Linked DNA regions of Homo sapiens: region 2 is linked to region 1. Evidence: promoter capture Hi-C in human tissues and cell types (Jung and others, 2019). All regions are on one chromosome and are shown on one strand. Each heading gives the region's core, a stretch centred on a gene start or on the middle of the fragment in contact. The rest is flanking DNA. Distances are from core to core; before and after follow the strand shown. Region 1 holds the start of HFM1 (helicase for meiosis 1). Region 2 has its middle 40 kb from the start of HFM1.

Region 1 (3,268 bases), core at 495-2,994:
CCATGGTAATCCCTCCCCCCAAAATGGGATTTTTAGTAACTTTATCACTGTCCTGAGGCTTCCTTTTAAAAACTGCAGCTTTGACATTTTTATTACATTATTTTAAGAGAAAGTAAGGCTCTATAGATTCCACATGCATTCTTGAATAAATGAGTGAGTGAATGAATGAATGTTTTTGTTTATGAACATGGTGGCCATTTGCTACTGTGTGCTTTGACAGTAAGACTCCCCTGTACCTGCCTGTTGCTGAATTCTACAATTCTATCACTCAAACCCTATCTTAGTTCAAGCTGCTATAACAAATTACCATAGGCTGGGTGGCTTAAACAACAAACATTTGTCACAATTTTGGTGCCTGAGAAGTCCAAGATCACAGTGCAGGCAGATCCGGTATTTGGCGAGGGCCTCCTTCCTGGCTTGCAGATACCGTCCTCCTGTATCCTCACATGGTAGGAAAAGAGCGAGCTAACTCTCTGGCCTCTTAAAAGGGCACAATCCTACTCATGAAGGCTCTACCCTTTTGAGTTAATTACCTCACAAAAGTCCCACGTTCAAATATCATCACATCGGGGGTTAGAATTCAATGTATGAATTTCAACACATTGAGGGGTTCACTATAACAAATGCACTGTTTCGTTATTTTCCTCTATGCAGTCTATGGAAAGTAACTTTCCTCTCCAGTATTTTTGAGAGGAATGATAATTCAACCTTTCTATTAAGAATAGTTTATGCAGTCAAAATGTTATTTTCTCCAAGAGACAAAGACTTGTTATTTTATCAGTATCCAAATAACTGGCTCACCCAATTACTGGAATAATTTTACATTTCAGAGAAGGTGAAAGAAATTAATATTCATGAGCATTTACTGTGTGGTAGGACTACTGCAAATATTATTTTATTTAACCCTTGCAGCAGTATCTAGGAGTTAGAGCTTATGAGTATCACTGAGGATGCAGAATTAAGACTTAAAGGTTGGGTCTTTTCCAAGGTCATATAGCTAATGAACAGTAGAACTGCAAGAAAAAAGAGAACAGGAATAGGGCAGTCAGACAGCAGTAGGTTGGCCCTAGATGTCACAGGTGGGGGTTTCCAAAGGAAAGATAAATGTCTCTGTAAGAAAAGCATCATTGATTCGTTGCTATTTTATCATCTACAAAACATTCCCTGCCAAATCTTCAGAGGACAATTCTAAAGAAACTTAAAAGGATAATTTATAGTTTGTTCATGTTTACAGCCTAAGAACACATTATTGCCCTGTTTTTATAAATTCATGTTGGCTAAACACATTTAAATATCATTGTGTTTTAGAATATTTATTTCTGAAATTTAACTTTATTTCTGAATCAAGTTCCCCAGTAATACCGACCTCATGAGTGCCACTGTGATATTTTATAAATAATATAGGTAAAACACTTTTTAGGTACGAAGAGACCGGAAGTCCCAGAGCTGAGGCCTGGCTAACTTTGATGAGAAAGGCAGGTTGGGGTATGTTTGTGGAGTGGTGGTTGTGGGGGTAGAGAAGCAGGTTAGCTTAGGGAAAGGGTACCATTTAGTAGACCCTTAGAACCCAGGATTAGGAGCTGTATTTAAAGAGAATAGACACAGTAAACTGCAAGAGATATATTCAAAACCAGTTATAAACTTTCGGAGAAAAAAAGGTAGGAAGGGAGAGGTTGGGGGCTTGGGCGATCCATTGCTTGGAGCTCGGCTTAGCCAGGCTTGGCGGTCCTCAGAGGGGCTGATAAATCGGCGCTCGACTGGCCTAGGAGCTGTCCGCAGGGAGGTGAGGAGAGGGGCCCGGACGCCCGCGGGGAAGGTGGGGACGGGGGCCCGACGCCCGCGGGGAAGTGGGGACCCAGCCGAGCCGTCCGGGCAGCGGTCGATCTCTAGAGCCGTCTGCCGGGCAGGCAGCGGACGGGCGCGGCGAGTTGTTGGTCACCAGGCGTCTCCAGGCCGCCGGCCCGCGCCAGCGCCTCAGCCGCATTTCCAGTCAGAAAGCGGTGAGGCCTGCGGCGCGCTCGGGCGCAGGGCGGGCCCAGCTCCCCGCGAGGTGGGACCGGCTGGGCGTCCGGCCCGCCCCTAAAGTCGGCTGATTGGTGTTCGGTTCCTGTGTCTTGTGTTCCGGTGTGTGGCGCCCCCTGAGCGAGCGCTGGGGGGGACGTACCCATCTGTCTGAGCCGCGGGTTTCACAGCGGTGGGAGGAAACGGGACCCGGGGGGTGGAGTGACGCGCCCCAGCGCCCCGTTCTTGTGCCACTCTCGGGGCCCTAAGGCCTCTGCCTTGGATTTAGGATATTCTCCTTAGGAAATCCACAGAGCTGTTATTTTGCTTTAGGTGCTGATTCGGTCCCCAGCCGGACCCTTCCAGCCAGCCCTGTTGGTGCCTGGGGAGAGGGGGTGAGATCTGGGGCTCCGACAATTGTATGGTCCTTTCCCAGGCCGAGCCTCGGAGTAATTTGTTCCCGTTGATTTTTCCTTCTTTGTCAGATTCTCTGCAGTTATTTGTGACGGTCGGTTATTCCCGTAAATGTTGGTCCCTACTTCTTCCTTAACTCACAAAAATTTCTAGCAAATCAATAATTTTTATCTGAGTTTCTGTACTTTTAAAATAAGGAGTATGTTTCTGAGTAAAAATTGTAAGAAGTAATAGGCCTGCAATTTTATACAATAAGTTTATACAATAATTGTATACAATAATTTTATACAATAAGTAAAGATTACAGAAGACAAAATGGTGAATTGTCATTAATATAACTAAAGATTAATTGTATCTAGTTGTATTAATATTTAACTAGAGATTGTCATTAATATAACTAGAGAAGGTCGGCACCGCAAATTATGTAGACTCAAAAATAGCTTAAGTATTTTAACAGTGATTATAGCAGAGCAGACACTTAAAACTACCTGGGATGATATTGTTTATTGTGTTTGGCAATCTAATTTTGTGCCACGTGCTGAAACTAAAACTTTAATAATAAATAATAGGAACTTAAAAAATCTGAATCTAAACCTAGAACTTTAATTAATTTAAAATAGCATCCCCTCACATCACAAACTCATACTGAACTGTAGCAAGGTCCCTTTTAGGACCTGTGTTTCTTTTTTAAAAAAAGATTTACATAATGAAAGTGCCAAATTCATCATCTTTTAGAACCTTCATGATTTTATTTACATAAATCCTGAACTAGAAAAAAATTTCACATTTTTTAACTGAACGTTGAAGATTGGGGCTCAAATTTTAAGTTTCTAAATTAACAGAAAATTATTTT
Region 2 (3,268 bases), core at 387-2,886, 40 kb before region 1:
TTAGTAAATAGGGAATCCTTTCCCCATTTCTTGTTTTTGTCAGGTTTGTCAAAAATCAGATGGTTGTAGATGTGTGGTGTTATTTCTGAGGCCTCTGTTCTGTTCCATTGATCTATATCTCTGTTTTGGTACCATTACCATGCTGTTTTGGTTACTGTAGCGTTGTAGTACAGTTTGAAGTCAGGTAGGGTGATGCCTCCAGCTCTGTTCTTTTTGCTTAGGATTGTCTTGGCAATGCGGGCTCTTTTTTAGTTCCGTATGAACTTTAAAGTAGTTTTTTCCAATTCTGTGAAGAAAGTCATTGGTAGCTTGATGGGGTTGGCATTGAATCTATAAATTACCTTGGGCAGTATGGCCATTTTCCTGATATTGATTCTTCCTATCCATGAGCATGGAATGTTCTTCCATTTGTTTGTGTCCTCCTTTATTTCATTGAGCAGTGGTTTGTAGTTCTTATTGAAGAGGGCCTTCACATCCCTTGTAAGTTGGATTCCTAGGTATTTTATTCTTTTTATAGCAATTGTGAATGGGAGTTCACTCGGGATTTTGCTCTCTGTTTGTCTGTTATTGGTGTATGGGAATGCTTGTGATTTTTGCATGTTGATTTTGTATCCTGAGACTTTGCTGAAGTTGCTTATCAGCTTAAGGAGATTTTGGGCTGGGACGATGGGGTTTTCTAAATATACAATCATGTCGTCTGCAAACAGGAACAATTTGACTTCCTCTTTTCCTAATTGAATACCCTTTATTTCTTTCTCCTGCCTGATTGCCCTGGCCAGAACTTCCAACACTATGTTGAATAGGAGTGGTGAGAGAGGGCATCACTGTCTTTTGCCAGTTTTCAAAGGGAATGCTTCCAGTTTTTGCCATTCAGTATGATATTGGCTGTGGGTTTGTCATAGATAGCTCTTATTATTTTGAGATACGTCCCACCAATACCTAATTTATTGAGAGTTTTTAGCATGAAGTGTTGTTGAATTTTGTCAAAGGCCTTTTCTGCATCTATTGAGATAATCATGTGGTTTTTGTCTTTGGTTCTGTTTATATGTTGGATTACATTTATTGATTTTTGTATGTTGAACCAGCCTTGCATCCCAGGGATGAAGCCCACTTGATCATGGTGGACAAGCTTTTTGATGTGCTGCTGGATTCAGTTTGCCAGTATTTTATTGAGGATTTTTGCATCAATGTTCATCAGGGATATTGGTCTAAAATTCTCTTTTTTTGTTGTGTCTCTGCCAGGCTTTGGTATCAGGATGATGCTGGCCTCATGAAATGAGTTAGGGAGGATTCCCTCTTTTTCTATTGATTGGAATAGTTTCAGAAGGAATGGTTCCAGCTCCTCTTTGTACCTCTGGTGGGATTCGGCTGTGAATCCATCTGGTAGTGGACTTTTTTTGTTGGTAGGCTATTGATTATTGCCTCAATTTCAGAGCCTGTTATTGGTCTATTCAGAGATTCAACTTCTTTCTGGTTTAGTCTTGGGAGGGTGAATGTGTCGAGGAATTTATCCATTTCTTCTAGGTTTTCTAGTTTATTTGCATAGAGGTGTTTATAGTATTCTCTGATGGTAGTTTGTATTTCTGTGGGATTGGTGGTGATATCCCCTTTATAATTTTTTATTGCATCTATTTGATTCTTGTCTCTTTTCTTCTTTATTAGTCTTGCTAGTGGTCTATCTATTTTGTTGATCTTTTCAGAAAACCAGCTCCTGGATTCATTGATTTTTTGAAGGGTTTTTTGTGTCTCTCTTTCCTTCAGTTCTGCTCTGATCTTAGTTATTTCTTGCCTTCTGCTAGCTTTTGAATGTGTTTGCTCTTGCTTCTCTACTTCTTTTAATTGTGATGTTAGGGTGTCAATTTTAGATCTTTCCTGCTTTCTCTTGTGGGCATTTAGTGCTACAAATTTCCCTCTACACACTGCTTTAAATGTGTCCCAGAGATTCTGGTACATTGCATCTTTGTTCTCATTGGTTTCAAAGAACATCTTTATTTCCGCCTTCATTTCATTATTTACCCAGTAGTCATTTAGGAGCAGGTTGTTCAGTTTCCATGTAGTTGAGCGGTTTTGAGTGAGTTTCTTAATCCCAAGTTCTAATTTGATTGCACTGTGGTCTGAGAGACAGTTTGTTATAATTTCTGTTCTTTTACATTGGCTGAGGAGTCCTTAACTTCCAACTATGTGGTCAATTTTGGAATAAGTGTGATGTGGTGCTGACAAGAATGTATATTCTGTTGATTTGGGGTTGCGATTCTGTAGATGTCTATTAGGTTTGCTTGGTGCAGAGCTGAGTTCAACTCCTGGATATCCTTGTTAACCTTCTGTCTTGTTGATCTGTCTAATATTGACAGTGGGGTGTTAAAGTTTCCCACTATTATTGTGTGGGAGTCTAAGTCTCTCCGTAAGTCTCTAAGGACTTGCTTTATGAATCTGGGTGCTCCTGTATGGGTGCATATATATTTAGGATAGTTAGCTCTTCTTGTTGAATTGATCCCTTTACCATTATGTAATGGCTTTCTTTGTCTCTTTTGATCTTTGTTGGTTTAAAGTCTGTTATATCAGAAACTAGGATTGCAACCCCTGCTTTTTTTTTTTTTTTTTTTTTTTTTTGCTTTCCATTTGCTTGGTAGATCTTCCTGAATTCCTTTATTTTGAGCCTATATCTGTCTCTGTACGTGAGATGGGTCTCCTGAATACAGCACACTGATGGGTCTTAACTCTTTATCCAATTTGCCAGTCTGTGTCTTTTAATTGGAGCATTTAGCCCATTTACATTTAAGGTTAATATTGTTATGTGTGAATTTGATCCTGTCATTATGATGTTAGCTGGTTATTTAGACCATTAGTTGATGCAGTTTCTTCCTAGCATCGATGGTCTTTACAATTTGGCATGTTTTTGCAGTGGCTGGTACCAGTTGTTCCTTTTCATGTTTATTGCTTCCTTCAGGAGCTCTTGTAAGGCAGGCCTCGTGGTGACAAAAATCTCTCAGCATTTGCTTGTCTGTAAAGTATTTTATTTCTCCTTCACTTATGAAGCTTAGTTTGGCTGTGTATGAAATTCTGGGTTGAAAATTTTTTTCTTTAAGAATGTTGAATATTGGCCCCCACTCTCTTCTGGCTTGTAGAGTTTCTGCCGAGAGATCTGCTGTTAGTCTGATGGGCTTCCTTTTGTGAGTAACCCAACCTTTCTCTCTGGCTGCCCTTAACATTTTTTCCTTCATTTCATCCTTGGTGAATCTGACAATTATGTGTCTTGGGGTTGCTCTTC

Evidence for each region. Contacts are between HindIII fragments. The study calls those that stand out against the background at their distance.
Region 2: a contact is called between a fragment that was not itself captured here and the fragment with the promoter of HFM1 in region 1, in 2 of the 25 tissues and cell types used here (spleen and stomach).

What each region holds. Positions count from the first base shown.
Region 1 is chr1:91,403,313-91,406,580 of GRCh38, reverse strand. It overlaps HFM1 (helicase for meiosis 1), which reads left to right and starts at 1,744. Exons shown (of 39, transcript NM_001017975.6): 1 at 1,744-1,783. RefSeq lists a silencer at 1,770-2,149. The HindIII fragment of the contact is 20,002 bases long and covers 1-3,268 here.
Region 2 is chr1:91,443,503-91,446,770 of GRCh38, reverse strand. No RefSeq gene overlaps it. Among named protein-coding and RNA genes, the nearest start is that of HFM1, 40 kb to the right of the region's middle. The HindIII fragment of the contact is 6,801 bases long and covers 1-3,268 here.